6 separate regions of the Homo sapiens genome follow, and regions 1, 2, 3, 4 and 6 are each linked to region 5. The links are contacts of gene promoters, found by promoter capture Hi-C in blood cells and fetal thymus (Javierre and others, 2016). All regions are on one chromosome and are shown on one strand. The core of a region is centred on a gene start or on the middle of the fragment in contact, and the rest is flanking DNA. Distances in the headings are between cores, read along the strand shown.

The links. Contacts are between HindIII fragments. The CHiCAGO score rates a contact against its expected background, and 5 or more counts as called.
Region 1: a fragment that was not itself captured here is called in contact with the fragment with the promoter of SKIL in region 5 in 4 of 17 cell types (endothelial precursors, erythroblasts, naive B cells and 1 more); the score reaches 7.8 in endothelial precursors.
Region 2: a fragment that was not itself captured here is called in contact with the fragment with the promoter of SKIL in region 5 in 4 of 17 cell types (fetal thymus, neutrophils, activated CD4 T cells and 1 more); the score reaches 8.9 in fetal thymus.
Region 3: a contact is called between a fragment that was not itself captured here and the fragment with the promoter of SKIL in region 5, in 2 of 17 cell types (erythroblasts and endothelial precursors). The highest score is 5.6, in erythroblasts.
Region 4: a fragment that was not itself captured here is called in contact with the fragment with the promoter of SKIL in region 5 in 1 of 17 cell types (neutrophils); the score reaches 6.1 in neutrophils.
Region 6: a fragment that was not itself captured here is called in contact with the fragment with the promoter of SKIL in region 5 in 2 of 17 cell types (total B cells and neutrophils); the score reaches 8.3 in total B cells.

Annotation. Positions count from the first base shown.
Region 1 is chr3:170,812,239-170,816,011 of GRCh38, forward strand. The region is part of intron 2 of LOC105374211 (a long non-coding RNA gene); the gene reads left to right. Among named protein-coding and RNA genes, the nearest start is that of RPL22L1, 56 kb to the right of the region's middle. The HindIII fragment of the contact is 201 bases long and covers 2,013-2,213 here.
Region 2 is chr3:169,860,704-169,864,443 of GRCh38, forward strand. It overlaps LRRC31 (leucine rich repeat containing 31), which reads right to left. Exons shown (of 9, transcript NM_024727.4): 2 at 967-1,110; 3 at 1-25. Among named protein-coding and RNA genes, the nearest start is that of LRRC31, 7.4 kb to the right of the region's middle. The HindIII fragment of the contact is 2,125 bases long and covers 1,265-3,389 here.
Region 3 is chr3:170,846,387-170,849,910 of GRCh38, forward strand. No RefSeq gene overlaps it. Among named protein-coding and RNA genes, the nearest start is that of RPL22L1, 22 kb to the right of the region's middle. The HindIII fragment of the contact is 4,274 bases long and covers 1-3,524 here.
Region 4 is chr3:169,990,022-169,993,482 of GRCh38, forward strand. SEC62 (SEC62 preprotein translocation factor) reads left to right here. Exons shown (of 8, transcript NM_003262.4): 8 at 2,573-3,461. The coding sequence ends at 3,042. Among named protein-coding and RNA genes, the nearest start is that of SEC62, 25 kb to the left of the region's middle. The HindIII fragment of the contact is 6,807 bases long and covers 1-3,461 here.
Region 5 is chr3:170,356,417-170,360,116 of GRCh38, forward strand. SKIL (SKI like proto-oncogene) reads left to right here and starts at 1,299. Exons shown (of 7, transcript NM_005414.5): 1 at 1,299-1,347; 2 at 3,283-3,700. RefSeq lists silencers at 252-1,151, 1,312-1,541, 1,592-1,721, 1,812-1,881. The HindIII fragment of the contact is 9,771 bases long and covers 1-2,847 here.
Region 6 is chr3:169,935,397-169,939,042 of GRCh38, forward strand. SAMD7 (sterile alpha motif domain containing 7) reads left to right here. Exons shown (of 9, transcript NM_001304366.2): 8 at 943-1,053; 9 at 2,922-3,646. The coding sequence ends at 3,110. Among named protein-coding and RNA genes, the nearest start is that of SAMD7, 26 kb to the left of the region's middle. RefSeq lists a silencer at 4-106. The HindIII fragment of the contact is 2,522 bases long and covers 1,096-3,617 here.

The DNA of each region.
Region 1 (3,773 bases), core at 863-3,362, 460 kb after region 5:
AAGTGTCAAGTTCAAGAACATTTTTGTACTGCCATGTGGTGATTCTGTTGCAGCTAATAAAGAGCTTAAAAGTCTTTGGGTCTGTGAAGCATAATCTCAGCTTTTTCTGTTTGGCGGATCTTCTTAGGTTCTCCTTGGTTCTGCACAGCTGATAATGTGAGAGGGGTTGCTGCTCTCCTCTTGCCGCAACCCCCACCCCAGGCCTTCTCACTCCCAAAACCTACCAAAACGTACCAAGCTGCCTCTTTGAATCTGCTGGCGTGGTAAGGGGAATGGTGTGGCGCATGTGAAAGAGATTGTCCCAAATGGGCAGAACCTTGGGACCCCAGCAAAATCCTGTGTTTAAGTTCTGGCCCAATTGCCAAAGTTCATCCCCAGTTCTTGTTTCAGACTAGCTCAGAAATTCGTCTCATTGATCCCTTTAAGGGCTTTTGTATGCGACTCTGCCACATCAAGAAAATAGCTCTACTACCACCCACTCAGAATATTTGCAGAATTTGCTTTCTTGAGATACGATCATAGCAAAAGCCATGCAGGAATCCCCACTTACCACAGAGGTCCATTTCCAGACATCTCATTGTGACCCCACTCCTCTGATGGCTGCAGACTCAGTCCCCAGAGGAGGAGCTCCTTGAGGCAGGGGTTGAAACATTTTTATAAATTATTATCCCCAGCATGTGGCACAGGGCCCAACATGTAGTAGGTGATCACAAAATTTTCTGTCAGGGAAAGCGTTAAAGTACTGAACTACTCTCCCAGTCCCCAAGCCCATTCTGATGTTAAACTCCTAATTCCCAATGTGACTGTTTTTGGAGTTCAAGCCTTTAGGGAGGTAATTAAGATTAAGTGAGGTCCTAAGGGTTGGTCTATAATCTGAAGGACTGGGGTTCTTATAGGAAGGAGAAGAGACACCAGAAATTTCTTTCCTTGCGTGCTCACAGAAAAAGGGTTATGTGAGGACACAGGAATAAAGTGGCTGTCTACAAAGAACAGGAAGAGAGGCCTTACCAGAAACCAACCTGATCACACCATGATCTTGGACTTCCAACCTCCAGAACTGTGAGAAAACACATTTCTGTTGTTTAAGCCATCCAGTCTCTGGTATTTTGTTAATGGCAGCCCTAGCAAACTAATACAGAAAGGGAAGCTCTTTAATGAGATTCCTGCAACCAGACCATGGCACAGTTCTAAATTCCAAAGAAGGAGGGAGGACAGACACTAACACGTGTTGAGAGCTGACGGATGTGGCAGCACTGAAGCAGCTGTTCCTGGAAATTCACCAGTTGTCTTCTGATCTAAAAACACTCCTGGGGAAGCTCGTGAATACCCACGGGTGAAGTGTTTTCCCCTGTACTATTCTCCCTACTAGCCATTCCCCAGTGCCTGGCTTTCAGTGATCTCTGGGTATGTGAACTCGAAACCAGCATTTCAGTAGGGAAGATGTAGTCAGGCAGAAGAACGTGCTCCTGTCTACCCAAGTGATGCTCCTAAGTGTCTCCATGAATGTCTATGAGTACCCAGGAATGAATGTTGTGTTTCTCATCCTGCATTGGATTTTACAGCCTTCATTAAATTTTGACCAACAAAATTGAGTGAGAAAAATCAGGCTTCCTGCAAGGAATGAGCTAAAACCAGTGTCGGGTTCTCACTGTGAACCTTGCATTTCCCTTTAATAACAGACATCAGACCACCTGCAAAAACATTACGTCTCACTAAGCCAGGTAAGAGTGAAACTAGAGAAAAGTAGAGGAAATGCCTTAAGTCAAAGTTTTGATTTGTAAATCTTAGAGGAGGACATGAAGCCCATGGATAAGCAATAGACTGGAAGAGTACAAAATGATACAAGAGGCAGTTTGCCTACCCCAGAGGAACAGATCCCCTGCGTAGAAAAGAATAGCACTGAGGAAGGGCTTTATGTCCTACCCATTCCTCCTCTAGCCCCCAGCCATTCTTAGAGAAGGGAGAGGTGGCAAAAAAAACTCATAAGAAAGTTTGAGATATCTAAGAATAGAAGCTTTGGGGCATGTGACTGAAGTTCAGGAGGGCAGCAGCCATTATGCAGCTTCCCCAAATGTAACTTAAAGAATGGCTGCAAAGACTATCCAGGCAGACAAGGCTGAGGTGATCTCATGGAGTTCCCTCGGAGGCTCATGGAGCAGCCAGTTATTTCCCAGAGGGGCTTAGAAGTCTAGAGAGAGAGCCGAGCCCAAAAAAGCTTAGTCTGTTCAGCCAATTCCCTTGGTGACCTAATGGGAATCAGAGCACACTAGCAAGGACAATGTCAGTGATGAAGGCTACAGGGACTTTATGCCCTCCGTGGCCTCTCTCTATTCAGTCCAGTGCCACCTGAAAGCTTCTTGGAATTTACCTGCAATGCTGGATAAAGAATTGGGGTCCTACATTAGCTGTCCCCAGAACCACCATACACAGAAATGCATACTATTCACTGCACAGGGACCCCTAGCTTAAGAAGCAGGTGTAGGCAGAAATCTAGTTTGTGTTGGCGCGGGGCTGCACCCTCCTGGAAGGGGATCTTTTTCTAATTTGCACAATGATGCCATAGGTTAGTGGCAGCTTGACTGAGCAAAACTTGATTTGACAGAGGTCCCTCTGAAGTGACTGAAAAGTTTTCACCACAAGCAGATTGAGGAACTAAGTAGAAATTAAGTTGGCGTATGAAAGAATAAAGTTAATGTCTCTTGCACATCTGAGTCTGTGGCCTGAGATTTATGACCACTATAAAGAAAAATATGAAGAAACCAACTCCTCCTCAAAAGAATGCATCTCTCTCTCTCTCTGTCTCTCTCTCTCTCTCTGCCTCTCTCTCTCTCTGGATGGCCTCACTCTCTTGCCCAGGCTGGAGTAAAGTGGCGTGATCACAGCTCACTGCAGCTTCAATCTCCTGGGTTCAAGCAATCCTCCCAACTCCCAGCTTCCCGAGTAGCTGGGACTACAGACACAGCACCACATCTGGCTAACTTTTTTTGTAGAGATGGGGTTTTGCCATGTTGCCCTGGTCTTGAATTCCTGGACTCAAGCCATCCACCTGCTTCGCCTTCCAAAGTGCTGGGATTATAGGCCTGAGCCATTGGACCCAGCTCAATTTTTATAATGATTAATATTTTGGTATATTTTCTTCCAGTCTTTTTCTGTATGCATTTTTCCATAGTTAATAACACATAGAACCTACAACTTGGTATCATGAATTTTCTGCTTAAAACTGTATCACAGGGGAAATCATGTAGACCAGGGGTCGCCAACCCCCGGGCCGAGGACTTTTACCAGTCTGTGGCCTGTTAGGAACCACACGGCACAGCAGGAGGTGAGCGGCAGGCAAGCTTCATCTGTGTTTACAGTCACTCCCGTGGCTCATATTACCACCTGAGCTCCGCCTCCTGTCAGATCAGCAGCGGCATTAGATTTTCATAGAGCAGGAGCTCTACTGTGAACTGTGCATGGGAGGGATCTAGGTTGTGTGCTCCTTATGAGACTCTAATGCCTCATGATCTGAGGTGGGACAGTTTCATCCTGAAACAATCCCCCATCTGCCTCTCCATCCATCGAAAAATTATCTTCCATGAAACCAGTCCCTGGTGCCAAAAAGTTTGGGCACCACTGACACAGATGGTAGATCTTGACCTCATCTGTATTTTTGAAACATCTGAGTTACTTACACAAGTGCTATGCCCCATGGCCACATCCCAGAGCAATAGAATGCCACCATTAACATGCCAAACTTAACCAAACTTAACATGCCACCAGAATCACTAACT
Region 2 (3,740 bases), core at 1,077-3,576, 490 kb before region 5:
TCTGGGAGAAAAGGCAGCAAGGCAACTAGAAGTGAACAGAAGAAAATACAGATATGTGTATGTGACTTGTGATTTGTAGTAAATAAAATGCAATGCTTACATACACAGGATATAGTTTTACACTGTAAGAGAATAGACAGTGGTAGGCACGCTGACTTTGGGCAAAGCAGGGAGCCCTCAGCTGTACAAGTGGAGAAATTGTGATGTTTACATTTGCTATTTCTTGGGATGTTTTCTATTTCTGCCAAATAACTGCAGTCTGAAAATGCAGGAGTGTGTCTGTAAGATTTCATACAGCCTCTTTTCCTAAACTCAGCTGAAGTCTTCAAAACTTGAGGAAGGATCAATTAACTTGTTTTTCTTTTCCTTTTTTTTTTTTTTTTTTCAGACGGAGTCTCGATCTGTCGCCAGGCTGGAGTGCAGTGGCACGATCTTGGCTCACTGCAACCTCCGCCTCCCAGGTTCAAGTAATTCTCTGCCTCAGCCTCCCGAGTGGCTGGGATTACAGGCACCCGCCACCACGCCTGGCTAACTTTTGTATTTTTAGTAGAGACGGGGTTTCACCATCTTGGCCAGGCTCGTCTTCAACTCCTAACCCCGTGATTCACCCGCCTCGGCCTCCCAAAGTGCTGGGATTACAGGCGTGAGCCACTGCGCCTGGCCTTTTTCTTAAAAAAAAAAGAAAAAAGAAAAAAGAAAAAACCTACTCGGGAGGCTGAGGCAGGAGAATGGCGTGAACCCGGGAGGCGGAGCTTACAGTGAGCTGAGATGCGTCACTGCACTCCAGCCTGGGTGACAGAGCGAGACTCCGTCTCAAAAAAAAAAAAAAAGCGATGCTGTTTCTGCAATTGTCTGGGACCACTCAGCAGACTTGGGGTTACTAGGTGGGTAGCTGAGTATGTTTTATCTGCTTATCTCAATGGAAAGGCCCTATCTTCCTCTATGCAAAGTCTGCTGCATACAGACCCATTTCTTTCATGTCCGCTGTTGTTAATCCACAGTTATTCAAATCTAGACACTTGTTGACAGCCTTTTTGCCCAGCTTCTGCAGGAAATGCTCATTTTTCTCCATACTGGATCTCCATTCCATTTCTGAACTGAGAGGCTTAGCTGTGTGATAAGCATAAAAAAGAATTTGCTGTTAATGATGGATGTATTAAAGATGCATAATGACCACAATCAGACAAGTGAAAAGACTGCATAACTCTGAATTGCTCTTTTATAAAAACCTCAACTCAGAGGCAGAGCCATTTACTAGGGACAAAGCTTAACTAACCACTGTTCCTGCCGCCAGGTGCCCAGACACTGCTTCAGGAGCCTGAGGAACGCAGTGGCTTTTCTATCATGACCTGACCTGGGCTTCTCAGCATGAAGACAGAGCTGCATTCCTGGGTGAGAAGTAAACCTGTCAGCCCGGCTTTTGAGATGCTTGCTTACTTGAAGGGCACGCATATCTTTGGTGGATGCAACTGCTAGGGAGGAAGCAGAGATACTTGCCTCCTCAAACCAAACAGGTGAAGAAGGGAAAGCGTTGAAATCACCATCAAGGAGCTGCAAATGGCCACACGGAGTAAGTGGAATTCTTGCCGGTCAGTTTCTAGACCATTCAATTGGCAAACACAAATCCAGAGAAACTAGGCCTGGGAGAGCTTTTGCTTTTTCTCAACTCCTGCCAGAAAGTGAATTTGGAAAGCCTCGTCTGTCCTCCTTGTTATTAGGGACTACTGTGGCACCCTCACTAGCTTCCTCTGTAATAACACTGTAATAACATGCTAGTGGCTGGGCACGGTGCCTCACACCTGTAATCCTAGTACTTTGGAAGGCTGAGGCGGGTGGATCATGAGGTCAGGAGATCAACACCATCCTGGCCAACATGGTGAAATGCTGTCTCTACTAAAATACAAAAAATTAGCCGGGCGTGGTGGTGCACACCTGTAGTCCCAGCTACTCAGGAGGCTGAGGCAGGGGAATATCTTGAACCCAGGAGGCAGAGATTGCAGTAAGCTGAGATTGTGCCACTTCACACCAGCCTGGCAACAGAGAGAAACTGCATCTAAAAAAAATAAATAAATAAATAAAAAAGATAGCACTATAATAATAAAAGCTATCATTTTATTGAGCACCTGTTATGTACTCGTTCTTTGCCTACTTGCAGGTGCCAGCATTTCTTTTTTCTTTCTTTTTTTTTTTGTTGGGGGGGATGGAGTCTCACTCTGTCACCCAGGTTAGAGTGCAGTGGCACAGTCTCAGCTCACTGCAACCTCCACCTCCCAGGTTCAAGCAATTCTCCTGCCTCAGCCTCCCGAGTAGCTGGGACTACAAGCGCCTGCCACCACGCCCGGCTAATTTTTGTATTTTTAGTAGAGATGAGGGGTTCGCCATGTTGGCCAGGCTGGTCTCGAACTCCTGACCTCAGGTGATCCACCTACCCGGCCTCCCAAAGTGCTGGGATTACAGGCATGAGTCACCATGGCAGGCCAGGTGCCAGCATTTAAGACATACATAAAACACATCATACTTTTCTAAGGAAAAATGAATATACATGTACTGACAGTGATTTTAAAGTGATTTTGTAAGTGAAATATACAATTTTAAACATATAGATTATGTATATTGAAATCCAATAGGAAATAATAAGTTCTGGAATGAGCAGTAATATTTTATTAACCCTGACAAAAAGGTGTAAGACAACATAGCTAAGAAGAAATACATTGGTACCTGTGAAAATTAAAAGATAGTAGGTTTGCAGTAGTAATAAATTTAGACCAAATGATTAGCAGGATAATAAAAACTACACCTGTAATCCACAGCAGTCTTGTGGCTTCCTGTTTGGTCTAAGAAAACCACACGTAGGATACGCGTCCTTGTTGGGATGCTTGGTGTTACCACATTTCACCAGTAGGAGGCAGCAGCATCCACCATTTAACCTTTCACTCTCGCCTTCCGTTTTTATGGCACATTGGACACAAGGCATTTAATTTTGGGTAGAGTTGCCAGATTTAGGAAAAACAACAACAGGGTGCCCAGTTAAATTTAAATTTTAAATCGACAAGGAATTGTTTTATTGTATGCCTCAACTGTTGCATGTATTTTCTCTGGCAACCCTAATTTTGGGTGGGGCAGAGCAGAATTGTGGATGGGAGACAGGGAGGGACTGCCTCTTAGGTGCCAGCAAGTACAGGACATTTTGTCTAAACGAGTCACAAACCATTTCATAGATTTGGAAACTTAGAGACACGATTAATTAGGAAGAAGCAGAGCCTGAATTTGAACCCAGAATAGTTTGTTCCAAAGCCTAGTGTGTGTGTGTGTGTGTGTGTGTGTGTTATTTTTGTATTTTAAAAAATTTCTCTGCATTGCATCTTATTGCTGTCTCTCTTTTGTTTTTAAGCTTTTTATCTCGACCTACAATCATCCTCAAGTTCCAGCCCCACCAAACCCACTCTTCTGTTTTCTCCTCAAGACACTGCTCTGTCAAGCATTTCCTTTACTGTCAAATGTTTGGAAAGAGTGGTTTCCACTTGCTGGCCCAACTCCTTCCCCACATTTACAAGCTAACCCTCTACCTTCTGGTTGCTACACTCCTCTATCCAAATACATTGTTTCTCAAAGGTCACCAACAATAACCTACAAACTGACAGACGCAGAAATCTCTTCTCAGTCCACATCCCACTGGGTGCTCTGTCATGTTTGATGTGACTGACAAGTAAGCAGTACAGTCAAAAGACCTGATCCAAATC
Region 3 (3,524 bases), core at 745-3,244, 490 kb after region 5:
CAATACGTATTTAATGAAGTAAAAGGCATATTTGTGAGAATGTTGGTAAGCAGTGCTTTAATGGTCATCAACATTGATTCTATTAAACATGTACTGAAAGCAGACAGATTTCAGACAAATTAGAGAGCATTTTCCAGGCCAAGTGCGGTGGCTCACGCCTGTAATCCCGGCACTTTGGGAGGCCGAGGCGGGCGGATCACCTGAGGTTGGGAGTTCAAGACCAGCCTGACCAACATGAAGAAACCCCATCTCTACTAAAAATGCAAAATTAGCCAGGCGTGGTGGCAGGCACCTGTAATCCCAGCTACTTGGGAGGCTGAGGCAGGAGAATCCCTTGAACCTGGGAGGCGGAGGTTGCAGTGAGCTGAGCTTGCACCACTACACTCCAGCCTAGGTGACAGAGTGAGACTGTCTCAAAAAAAAAAAAAAAAAAAAAAAAAAAAAAAAGCACTTCCTAGGTAGCAAAGTAACAACATTCTGGGATATAATGTGAAGACATTTGGGGAGTCTTCTTTCTCAGGGTTTGTTTGGCTTGAAGGAAAGAAAAAATGGCCACCTATCTTTTGGGGTCTGTGGTGACTTTCCTTTTGAGGAGGACGATGGTTTCTCCTTTAGTTCTTTCAGTTTGGACTGTAGGTTCCTTGTCTCCCTTATTCTTTCCCTGACTTCTTTGAAGACAGCAAAAATTAAGAGACTCATTTTCTTTTTTTTAACTTTCAGTTCTGGAATACATGTGCAGAACATGCAGGTTTGTTACATAGTTATACATGTGTCATAGTGGTTTGCTGCACCTATCAACCCATCACCTAGGTTTTAAGCCCCGCATGCATTAGGTATTTGTCCTAATGCTCTCCCTCTCCTTGCCTCCCACTCTCTGACAGGCCCTGGTGTGTGATGTTACCCCCCCATGTCCATGTGTAAGAGACTCTTTTAAAAAAGAAATAGATGGTTATTTCCAGTCCTACTAATGATAATGAAGTAATTTTGAAATTTTAAAAATTTCTTACAGCACTCTCGGAAATAACTTCTTGCATATTTATTTTTCTTGCTTACAAAGGTAGAAATTTATTATAGGCCCACAATCTCTTTTCCAAAAGTATTGGAGACAAATATATTTTGGAATTCCTTGCTTTTTTATTCTAAAAAGATAATACGGTACAAATATCAGGGATTATGTAACATTCCCAGTGGAATCTGGAGCAGTACCCATTACTGAAAACATTAATACATATAATGTACAGTAATACATATAAACATTCACACAAAGTAAAGACGATAAATAGCCTCACCTCTAGGTTACATTTTGCCATAAAATAGTTACAAAAATCTTAGGTTTTTAGATAGGGTTGCAAGATAAAATACAGACTGCTCAGTTAAATTTGAATTTCAGATAAACAACAAATAATTTTTATCGTTGTGGTTGCTTTTGTTTTTTGTGGTGGTGGTGGTGGTGGTGGTGTAGGAACAAGTAATTTTTTAGTATATGCCCCAAACATTGCATGAAACACACTTATACTAAAAAAAAAAAAAAAATACATATTCAGGCCAGGTGTGGTGGCTCACGCTTGTAATTCTAGGGCTTTAGGAAGCTGAGGTGGGAGGATCACTTGAGGCCAGGAGTTCAAGATGAACCTGGGAAAAATAGGGAGACCCTGTCTCTACAAAACACACACACACACATGCACACAAAATGTTTAAGTAGAATTCAAGTTTAACTGAATGTCTGTTTTTTTTAATTTATGAAATGTGCCTCTTTTAATTTGAAACTGCAAATAAAAGATTGTAGACTCGTATTTAAAAATATCCTAATTGAAATACTATTAAGAGCTACTATTCCAGGAGTTGAGTTTGATTTGGGCCTTTTTGAAGGGAAATACAGAAAACAAAGTTTTATTAAGTATGTTTATGTCCACACAGTATGTGAGATATAAAGCCTGTGCAAAGCCAAACAGATGAACAACTCAAGATATTTAAAGAGTTAGAAATAACATGGCTATTTTAGAAACAATTTATATCATGCATTTTAATAATGGTTCTTTCCTGTTTCACTGGAAAATTCATCATCTATAAAATATCCCTTTTAGAAAGTTATAAGAAGTCTCCTTAACAAAGATATAGCTCCATCTAATGGGAAAAATATCACATTACAGCCTATCATGCAGCTAGGAATTAATCCAATATTTCTATGAGTGCTAATAATAATTATATGTGTATGTAGTTTATACACACACATACACAAATACTGGATGTGTTTCTGTGCTTCTCCTTTTTTGCAGCCAGATAGGATCTAAAAGTTCCTTCAAGAGCTGCTCTTTTCCTTGGATTGAACTAATGTAAATGTATTTTTATTTTTATATTTTAGAGACGGGGTCTTGCTCTGTTGCTCAGGCTGGAGTTCAGTGGTGCAATCATGGCTCACTGCAGCCTCAAACTCCTAGGCTCAAGTGATCCTCCCACCTCAGCCCCCCATGTAGCTGGGACTAAAGCACGCACCACCATGCCAGGCTAATTTTGTATCTTTTGTAGAGACAGGGTTTCACCATGTTGTCTAGGCTGGTCTCAAACTCTTGGGCTCGAGTGATCTTCCCATCCTGACCTGCCAAAGTGTTGGGATTACAGGCATCAGCCATCATGCTCGGCTATTTTTATTTTTATAGTTCTTTCAAGAGCATCTCTTTTCCTTGGATTAGACGAATATAAATATATTTTTATTACGTATAACCACCCACACCCTAAGCTCATTCCCACCCTATTAATCTACAAAATGTAACCTTAAGAGTGTTTAATTTTCTGCCCTTGAAAATCATGGCCTCTTCAAACGTGGAAAGGACATTAGAGATTATCCAACTTGTGGTTCTCTACCCTGGCTAAGTATTAGAATCATCTGGGAAAGTTAACAAAAATACCCCTGCCTGAAACCACCAACATAAATTCTTTTTTAACTGGTCTGGGTAAGTCCTGGGCTTGGGTATTACGTAAAAGCTCTCCCAGGAGATTCTAATGTGCAGGTGATTCTAATCCCCCAGCTGACTTTAACGTGCAGCCAGGTTTAGGCCCTGGTGAATTTTAAGACAGCCAACATATTTTACGATAGAGGAAACCAAGCCCCACTGAAGAGAAGTGATTCTATAACTAGAATGTTAGAGTCTCTGACATGTAAGAAATCACAATTCTTAGAAATAGATAAGAAAACACAATCATCATAGTGTTCTTGCCCATCCTTTCTTTTATGTAAAACTTTCTTCTATGAAGATACAGCAGGAAAATGTCTATTTCAAAACTCAAACTCAATGACATCAAATCAGAGATATGAATTGTCCTCACTTCTGAGAATCTGACCTCCAGGTTCAAATTATAGTCTATTTTATCTCCATTTTTCTTTCACCCCTCTCTCCATTTCATCATCAAATCCTGTTAGTACTTTTTGTAAGCTCAATGACAGCAGAGCATGGGTCTATCTTGTTCACTGCTGCAGTCCTAGCCCTGAGCATCATGTTGGCTCATGGCAAGCACTCTATACGTAT
Region 4 (3,461 bases), core at 569-3,068, 370 kb before region 5:
CATATATATCATATAATATATATCATATGATATGTCATATATATTATATGATATCTCATATTTATATGAAATATATTTTTATATATATTCATTTTTTGGAGACAGGGTCTTGCTCTGTTGCCCAGGGTAAAGTACCATGGCAGAATCATAGCTCACTGTACCCTCAAACTCCTGGGCTCAAGCAGCCCTCCCACCTTAGCCTCCTGAATAGCTGGGACTATAGGAGCATGTTGCCATGCCTAGCTAATTTTTTTTTTTAAAGTCAGGGTCTTGAAATATTATGTATTGGTCACAATTATATCTGGTGTTTCTTTGAATATGCATTATTAATAATGCCATTTAAAATAAAACCTTTGGCAGTTTTCTAAAATCTGTCGCTTTTAGCATAGGAATGTTATTATAGTACATGTCACAGCTTCCCCATAATTCTTCCCTTTTCACTCTCGGTAATCTAGTGCCACATAGCGAAAAACTGTAAAACATGAACATTTTGCCATACCATTTGTATGTGATAAGAAATTAGGTTAGTGCCATTTCTATATTGCTTTTTCTTTGGTTTGATACAAGATTTCATATTATGAATCATCTGTCTTACAATCCTGTAAAACCTATCATTGCATCATAATTGGAGAAAAAAATGTACAGCCTCCTTAAATTCATTATCTCTGTTTATCAGTGGAATTTATTCTTAAATCATAATTTTAAGCATATTTACCTTTTCCGTTTATACCACGAAAGATTCTAATGTGTACAGGAGTCTTTCAGAATATTTATATTCTTGTGAAAATAAAAATTGCTATTTTTAAAAGTCAAGACAGCTATAACGATTTTCTTCCATTTATACAAAGCAAAATAATGGAAGACACATAGATTAGCTTATTTCAGGCTTTATATGAAAACAGTGACAGAATTGTCTAAAGAAAACAAAAACCAAAACTCCTGTCATAATTGATTAGTCTGTAACATTCACATAATCATCATGACCTTTTAAAAAACAGGAAAAAATCACTCAGCTCTACATAATTGGTAAATTCAGAGAAAACTAAATATTGGGGTTTGTGATAACTCATTACTACAAATTTTAAAATTCAAATTCCATTTTTCTACAGTTTTTTCATAATACAGTGTTATAAAAGAGTAAACCTTATGTATTTAAGTGATCTTGCTTTCATTAACATTGTATTTTTCCTAATATTGAGAGGATTGGTCTTTAAGCAAAAATTACATAGTTTACCTAACTAATAAAACAAAAAGGTCAGGTTCAGTGACTCACAACTGCGATCCCAACTACTCGGGAGGCTGAGGTGAGAGGATCACATAAAGCCAGGAGTTTAAGACTGGCCTGGACAACATAGCAAGAACCTGTCTATCAAAGTAGGTAGATAGGTAGAGAGAGAGGGAGGATAGATAGAGAGAGAGAGATTAGATAAATAAATGATAGATATAGACCTGTAATCCCTGCACTTTGGGAGTTTGAGCCCAGGAGTTCAAGACCAGACTGGGCAACTTGGCAAGACCCCATCTCTACAAAAAATACAAAAATTAGCGGAGCATGGTGGCACGTACCTGCTACTTGGAGGCTGAGGTGGGAGGATTGCTTGAGCCCAGGAGGTTGAGGCTGCAGCGAGTCATGATTGTGCCACTGCACTCCAGCCTGGGTGACAGAGCAAGACCTTGTCCTCAATAAATAAATAAGAAAACAAGGATTAAAAGATGGAAACTTTCTAATACTGGGGTTCCTTATCCAGGGCTAATTTATCCTTTAGGCATAGTAAACGTGTGCCTTGGACCAAGATACATATAGGGGTCCACAGAAATATTTTCATTTTTATTTCTTTTAAATCAGAAGTAGTAATGTATATACATGTATGTAATAGCAAACCTATACAGTATTTTATTCGTGTTTATACAGATGTACAGAAAATATAGTCATAAATGTATAGAAAATATAATATTTAATAGTTTTTGTGGAGTAAGTGCCTTACAAAGGCAAAAGGGCCTAGGGCCTTGGGAAGTATGATGCAGCCCTGCTTTTCCTTCTTAAAGGCTTCCTTCCTAAACACCTTTCATCTCTTTATTTTATTCTTTTCCTACACCATGATCTTATGAATACTTAAATTCCCAACTGATTGCTATGTGTATTGAAGCATAATATCACAAAGTACATAAATCAGAAGTGTATATCCATGTAAGTGTACACCCAGATGGAAAAAAGAAGTAATTTTTTTCAGTGACATTATTGCATTGTGACCTCAAGTTCAGAGCAACATTCTGTGCCCCTAGAATACCGTGATAGCTGCTAAACTAGTCAGGAATTTTTTGTTTTCAGGCATGCAGTGGTGTAATTATAGCTCACTGCAGCCTCGAGCTCCTGGGCTCAAGTGATCCTCCCAAGTAGCTTGGATTAGAGGTTTAGCCACCACGCCCAGCACTAATCAGGATTTAAATATTAATATTTAAGGTGTATGAAATGTGCAGATAATAAAACTGTTTTCCCAGCTTTTTATTAACAAATACTCCCTTCTGAGGCAGTGTTTGAATTACTCAATTAGAGAAATTTTTCTCCCCACAGCTCGATGCATTCTATTTCTCATCATTTGGCTCATAACTGGAGGAAGGCACCACTTTTGGTTCTTGCCAAATCTGACTGCTGATGTGGGCTTCATTGACTCCTTCAGGCCTCTGTACACACATGAATACAAAGGACCAAAAGCAGACTTAAAGAAAGATGAGAAGTCTGAAACCAAAAAGCAACAGAAGTCCGACAGTGAGGAAAAGTCAGACAGTGAGAAAAAGGAAGATGAGGAGGGGAAAGTAGGACCAGGAAATCATGGAACAGAAGGCTCGGGGGGAGAACGGCATTCAGACACGGACAGTGACAGGAGGGAAGATGATCGATCCCAGCACAGTAGTGGAAATGGAAATGATTTTGAAATGATAACAAAAGAGGAACTGGAACAGCAAACAGATGGGGATTGTGAAGAGGATGAGGAAGAGGAAAATGATGGAGAAACACCTAAATCTTCACATGAAAAATCATAATCTGACTAATTTTGGGACTGAATGAATAAGTACAAGAGGTTGGATTTTCTATGTTGGCTGATTACCATATTGAACACATGGCATTTGTAGCATTCTTTAAATCTATCTACTGAAATGTATTTGACATTCAAGCAGTTATATTCGGTCCTTCATTTTATAGAATATTGGCACTATTATTGGTACAGTTTAAAGCCATTAATATGTTTTATCCATTTGATAATTTTACAGTAAGTAGGTCTCATTCATTTTGACAGTTATCAAAGATGTACTTTCCACAGTTAAATTTACATTAATGGCAATTTTTGATAGTTTTATGGCTTTTTACTGTTAGACTAATCAAAAATAACTTTAAAAGGAACAAAGAAACTCCAACATTTCACATTATGCATAGTTATGTAGCCATTTCACAGTTTCTTTAA
Region 5 (3,700 bases), core at 49-2,548:
AGGGGATTTCTTGGTGTTTCGAAATGTGACGGAGCAGCTCTGCAGAGTTCAATATGCTAATCGGCTACCCTGGGAACCAGGAAGACCACCCTACACGCCTCAGAGGGTCACAGCCGGAAAGCTCTTGAGTCCTATCTTCCCTACCTCGTCTCGTCCCTCTCCAAAAAAACACACACACAAAAAAACACCCTCAGTAAACACTGTAAAAACCTTTAATTTATAGCTCCCTTCTGGAACCGAGAGAGCAGCCTGGTGGGGTGGAGGCAGGAGGCTGGGGAGTAGGGACAGAAATGTTTGCTCTCGGTTTTGCCGGAACTTTGGCCACCCCTCCCGCCCGGCCCGATGGCGGATGGAGGTCAGCCAGGGGAAGGCGTCTGGGTGGAGGCCGCCCGGGCGAGGCCGGGGCCGCCGGGGCGGGGCGGAGCGCCGGCAGCTGGCTGGGCGGCCCTCGGGCAGGAGGCCCCGCGGGGGCGAGGGGCAGCCCAGGAGGGAGGTCCCGCGGGGGCGGGGAGCAGAGCCGGCCCCGGGGGCCCTGCAGGGCGGCCGCCGCCCGGCTGCCTCCGGGGCGGGGCGGCCCAGCTGCGGCCCCGCAGGGGGAGGGTCGCCCGTGCCTGACCTCGGGCGGCGGCACTCTGCCGGGCGGGCACTGCCTCCGCCCTGCCGGCTGCTGGGGTCGCGCACAGTGCACCGCGCGGCTGCCCTGCCCCCTCTTCCCCGCTGCGCGGCGTCCGAGCGGCCAGGGCGCCCCCGCGTCTGGCCCATCACCACAGAGCGGCGGGTGGGGCGGGGGCGGGGCGGTGGCCCCAGACAGCCGGCTGGGCGACTAGAGGAAGGAAGGAGGGAGGGCGGCGGTGAGGGTGGGGTGGGGAGGGAACATCCTGTCTGCGCCGGGTGCACCGCAGACAGCGCCGCGCGCCAGCTTCCCAGACGGCGCGCGGGGCCAGAAGCGCCGGGCGCGCGCCTGGGGGGAGGGGCACGCGCGCGAGACGACGGGGCCAGGGGGGCGCTCTGAGGAGCCACAATAGGCCAGACGGCACGCGCGTCCACGAGGGGGCCGGGAGCCGCGAAGTGGCGGCGGCGGCGACGACGCCGGCGGGCCCGCGCGCGCGGCGCCGCCGCTGGCTCCGTTCCCTTCCCCTCCCCCTCCCCGCCGCCCTCGCTCTCCCCCGGGCGGCCGGAGACGGCGGCGGCGTCTGCGGGAAGCTGTGTGTCTCCGCAGTGACGTGGGCGGGCCGAGGACTCGGTGACGTCAGAGGGCTGTGTGTAGCGATGTGTGTGGGGTTCGGAGCCGCGCCGGCACAGCCGAAGGGAGCGGGCGAGCGGCGACGGCGGCGGCGGCGGGCACAGGTGCGGCTCCGGCTTACGGCGGCGACGCGGCGGAGGCGGCGGGAGGCCAGAGGCGCTCACCCTCCTAGGAGCCCGACGGCGGCGACAGGGGCGGTGGGGAATTCACAAAGCTCGTCGAGCTTACCCGGGCACCGAGGCCCGAGTAGGGGGTTTGGATGCGCGGGTCCCGGGTGGGGTCGGGGCCAGAGGGGGTCGCTAGGCGGGTGTTCCACGGCTGATCACGCTTCGTTGGCCCCAGGCGGTGGGCGCCGGCAGGGCAGGGCGCTGTAGTTGACGGGAGCCGCGGGGACCCCGGAGACCCGGACGCCCGTCACCGCCCCCCTCCCCCAGTCCAGCAGCGCTCCGCGGGGATGCCCTGGTCTCGACCCGGTCCGTCAGCCCCCGGCGGCGCAGGGATCCGCGCCCGGCGCCTAAACTGCCCTGGTGTCCTCTTCGTTCTGGCCCGGGGCTGGCGCGGGGAGGTGCAGCATTAGGGGCGCTGAGGTGACACCCGAGAACTTCCCAGGGAGAGGGTGCGCGGGGGGGTGGATTTCCACAGTCCTTCCCGCGGCCCCCGCGGGGGGGCGGTGTTGGGAGGGCACTTGGGGTTATCCCAGGCTCGCCGGTGGGGGTGGGGGGACTCCTCCCTTTACTTCCCTCCACCCCCTTGCACACCCACCCCCAGGCTTCCCGTGTCCCTTGTTCTCCCTCTCTCCGGGTTAGAGATAGGTGGGTGGCTTTGAGTGGGCGGAGGACTTCAGGGTTTTAGGGGCTCCCCCATTCTAGGTCATGCCTCTTGCTCTCTTCCTTGGCCTGTGTTGAGTAAGGTGTGTTCCTGTGGTGGACGAAAGTCTGTACGATGGTTGGTGGCATTGGTCCTTAATCCTTTGGGTCTGTTTTAAGGTAAAGTGCTGAGAGTTTGGGAAGCAAAAATTTCTATTTATTGGATTTCTTTTGGCTTTTCTCTCAAGAAGGAAGTGGAAAAAGAGTCTTTTCTTTTTCCCTCTTCCTCCATTTGCATTCTTTGTGAGGTTTGTCTGCCTTGTGCTTTTTGTCCCGGATTAGTCTTGTTGAAGGATGGAGATTCCCAGGCGTGGAGTCTATAGCTTTTGGCTTCCATTAAGTAAAATCGCTAACCTTTTTTTAAGAGAAAGTTAATTTTTGCCTGCAGTCATTCCAGAAAAATAGTGTACACGGACTAGCTGAATTAATCCACTTAAAATTGTAACTTAGTTACATATGGTAGATATGTTAACTCCTATCTGATTTTTTTGGATGAAACTGTTGTTTTGTTTTTAAATAGGAGATGAAGTAATGGATTTTTTTCCCTCCCTTAAAATGGCATAGCTGAGAAAGCCCCGGTACTACTAATTGAGATGATCTGCTTAAGAGTCTTCATATTCTGAACTCGAAAGGCCTTTTATGTTATATTATTGCTCGCTTTACGCAACTCCAAATTGCTTTCCTATTTAAATGAATGTTCTTCTAGTAAACTGGTGTTAGATTTAAAGAAATCACTCAAGCTTCACCTTGGTAAACTGAACTCAGTTTAAGATTAAGAAACTGATTTCGGCCGGGTGCGGTGGCTCACGCCTGTAATTCCAGCACTTTGGGAGGCCCGGGCGGGCGGATCACCTGAGGTCAGGAGTTCAAGACCAGCCTGACTAATATGGTGAAACCCCGTTTCTACTAAAAATACAAAAAAATTAGCCGGGTGTCGTGGCTTGTGCCTGTAGTCCCAGCTACTCCGGAGTCTGAGACAGGAAAATTGCTTGAACCCGGGAGGCGGAGGTTGCAGTATGCCGAGATCGCTGCACTTCAGCCTGGGCGACAGAGCGAGACTCCGTAAAAAAAAGAAAAAAAAAAAAATAAAAGAAACTGGTTTCAAATTGGCCCTTTGGCCTCTGGAGCAAATTCAAATGTAACTCTTCCCCAACCCCCCTTCTCTTCTTCCAGATTAATTAAAAGAAGAATGAACTATAATCCTTGAAGATAACTGGGCAATTTTTTAAGTCGGAGGCTGTTCTTACTGGTGTGAGGATTTACACACGTCTTCAGTTTTTCAGCACAGACCAGCAGACCATCATTTTTAGAGGAAATACTCCCTCTGCCCTCCTTTTTGGTTTCCTTGGTGGTAAAGATTAAATTTGGTTGCATCATTTTGACTTGTGTTTGAGTCTAGATTTTATGGCACAAGGAATGGCATAAACTTTTCATGTGTTTTGGTTAAAACAAACCAGACCATTGCATTGACCCTGGACATCTTTAATTGAGAAATTGGTAACTTTATTTTAATATGTATATCTGAAGAATTCAAGAAAACAAAGGCATCCTCAGAGGTGTGCCTCTTTTCTTTATTATTAGAGGCAAAACG
Region 6 (3,646 bases), core at 1,107-3,606, 420 kb before region 5:
GACCTCTCTTCCATTGTATCGTGACAGTGGGAGAAAATAAAGGTTTTTGGTTCATTGGTCAGAATTAGAGGGAGTTCTTATCTACTGGTTTTTGTTTTCTGTTTTTTGTTTTGTTTTGTTTTGTTTTGTTTTTTTAGTTAGGAAGCGCTATGATCTACTGAAAATGAGGGAAGGCTCTGCCTACAAAGTCTAAAGTTTGAGGAGGGTGGAGATAGCTTGAAATAGAAGGGAGAGAAAGCTCAACTGTGAATATAGAAGGATTTCCAGGCAAGTTGAAGTTGAAGATCATGAAATTACGGTCCTATCAATCTGCCTAGATTTTGTATCCCTCTATCTGCCTGGAATCTTTGTCCACCAGCAGCCTTCCTGGCTTTCAGAGAAAGGAAGGCACGCCACGTCCACTACAGTTTCAGGACTAACAGACCTGCTGGAAAGGTCCGGTAGGGAAAGTTCTCAGCAGCATTTCCCTCCCCTCCCTTTACCAAGCATCTAAGGCATGGCCAGCAGATACCACATCTGTAAATGTGAGACATGAAATTTATCCATAACAGGTTTTACCCACATCCCTTTACTTACAGCATTTACTCATTCATTCATTTATCCAGCAATATTTATTGTACATCTTCTTACCATATGCCAGCCTCTGTATTAGGGGTACATTGGTCAAAAAAACACTGACCTGGCCCTCAAATAATCACTATTCCTGGTTGGAATTGAGTTCTATAAACAGAGAATTACAGTCGATTACAAAGGTTATTAAAGAGCACAAGCAATATGCTACTGAGCACAGAAAAGAGAGCAACTAAAAAAAGGTTTTACAAATTTTTTTGTCATCCTCAAGCAGTCTTAATGTTTTCTCCAAAACTAAAATATCTAGGTGGTAAAAGAACTTTTTCAAAAAAAGACATTCAGACAGAGTTAACACCTTTTGTATTTATGAAGGTATTTAAAGATCATGCAATTGATGGAGAAACTTTGCCATTACTCACAGAAGAGCATCTTCGAGGCACTATGGGATTAAAGCTAGGGCCGGCACTAAAAATTCAGTCACAGGTATGGTGATTTTATATAACTAATTATGTATTAATGGCACAAAGCTTAATACAAATATGTTACTTTTATCTTGTTGTAATATAAATAATACTTATTTAACTTCTTTATTGCTTTCCCTCTGTGGTTGAGGACATAATAGAAGTGAGGGACCCTGAAAACATTGGATGGGATGGTGGTACACATTCCTAGATATAACTGGGAAGATGATAAGCAAGGATGCACTGGTAAATGTTTAACAAGTAGTTCTCTTTGAAAAAAAATGAGCCCCAATTTGTAATATCTCCAATTTCTGTGGTGTAAATTACTCCCACCGTGGCTGAGAAACTCCTAATGTCACTGAATACTGTCATCCTCCGAGAAATCATCATCCCACTCGGGAGTGCTGCCCTCCTCGCTCCGGGCCCATGACACTTGGGGGTGACTATCCTGAAATGGGAAAAGATGCATAGCAGCACCCCACTTTAGAGTATTTCTACCAGATACAATCTCAAATATAATAGGTGTGAATAACGTCAAGAGCAGAAGTAATAATAATAGTAAAATAATTAGGTAAAAACAATTAAAAAGTGATGAGCCTTAAGCATATATTACTTTTGTTGTACATAATTTATTTAATATGATGCTTTGACTTAATTTTTAATAATGATGTATTTAACAACTGGCTTGCAAACTTCCTAAACATTGAATAATTGGCTCTTGTGAGTTAGCCAACCCCAGCACGCCACTTCTCACTACCTCCACCACTCCATCCTGGTCTCAGGCACCATCATCTCTCATTGGATGACTGTATTGGCCTTCTTTTTTTTTAATTTTAATTTTTATTTTAAGTTATGGGGTACATGTGCAGGTTTGTTGCACAGGTAAACATGTGCCATGGTGGTTTGCTGCACCTATCAACCCATCACCTAGGTATTAAGCCCAGCATGCATTAGCTATTTATCCTGATGCTCTCCCTCCCCCCATCCCAACCCCTGACAGGCCTCAGTGTGTGTTGTTCCCCTCCCTATGTCCATGTGTTCTCATTATTCAGCTCCCACTTATAAGTGAGAACATGCGGTGTTTGGTTTTCTGTTCCTGCATTAGTTTGCTGAGGATAATGGCTTCCAGCTCCATCCATGTCCCTGCAAAGGACATGATCTCGTTCCTTTTTATGGCTGCATAGTATTCCATGGTGTATATGTACCACATTTTCTTTATCCAGTCTATCACTGATGGGCATTTGGGTTGATTCCATGTCTTTGCTATTGTGAATAGTGCTGCAATGAACATATGTGTGCATTTATCTTTGTAATAGAATGATTTATATTCCTTTGGGTAAATAGCCAGTAATGGGATTGCTGGGTCAAATGGTATTTCTGGTTCTAAATCTTTCAGAAATCATGCATTGGCCTTCTAACTGCTCTCCCTGCTTCTGCCCTTGCCCACCCAGAGTTGATTCACAAAACAGTAAAAGTGGTCCTTTTAATATGTAAGATGGATTGTGTCAGTCTTCTGCTCAAGATTCTACAATAGCTCCCCATTGCCTTCAGAGCCAAAGCCAAAGACCTATGTCATTTGTGCTCCTCCTAACATGCCACCACCATTACCGTCCTGACCTCACCATCTACTTTTCTCCCCCTCAGTAATTCCACTATTGCTCAGCTGCCCCTGGTTAGAGCCACCTTGATACCCTGTTTTACATCTGTAAACACTATAATTCTGAGAGAAAGAAAAAGCCCACCACATCCTACAATTGTGACCCCCACAACTATATGTTAATAGATGCTCCATGCCTGAAATTACCTCAGCCTCTCTGTGATGTGTGTTTAATGCTGAGTTAATGAAAAAAATTCATAGAATTGATTACTATAATTATTTTGTCTTAAAAGGTATCTCAGCATGTGGGAAGTATGTTCTACAAGAAAACTCTTTCATTTCCTATAAGACAAGCATTTGATCAACCAGCAGATACATCCCCTCTTCTGGATCCTAATTCCTGGAGTGATACAATGAACATTTTTTGTCCCCAGGATACAATAATTCCTAAAGGAATTGAGCGAGGTAGTATGAGAAACTAAAAGCCCTCAAGGAGGAAGAATAGTCTTAGCCAGTTTTCCAAAGAGCCTAGGATATTACAAAGGATGTGTGAGGATTTCCCAGTACTGGATGGAGAATGAGAAGAGAAAGTCAGCCTTTCTGGGGCTTTCATGGAGGAGACTTGCCCAAGGGGCTTCCCTGCCAGGGCTGAATGACCCCAGCACCAAATGACTGGAGACGCATCCTTAGGAGCAAATGCTAATGAAGGGGAGATTTACAAACATCAAGAAAGCTGCAGATGGATGTTTCCATGAAGAAATCTCTGAAGAAACCAAAAGAGCTGAAACTGAAAAAAGAGCTCCCTCCCTTTTTTCACTCATTTTCCATTCCCAAACCCTGAAAGAGATAAAGGCAACCCAATGAAACCACAGAGAGGCAGAAGAGAACGGGCAGAAGTACAGAACAGAAATGGAGAAGCTGACCACGACTCCATCTCTTCTCATTCCAGATTTCCAGCGTGAAGCAGGCCCAAGCTAGGGAAGGTGAGAAGCTTTAACCTTAAATTTTCGAGTTTTGG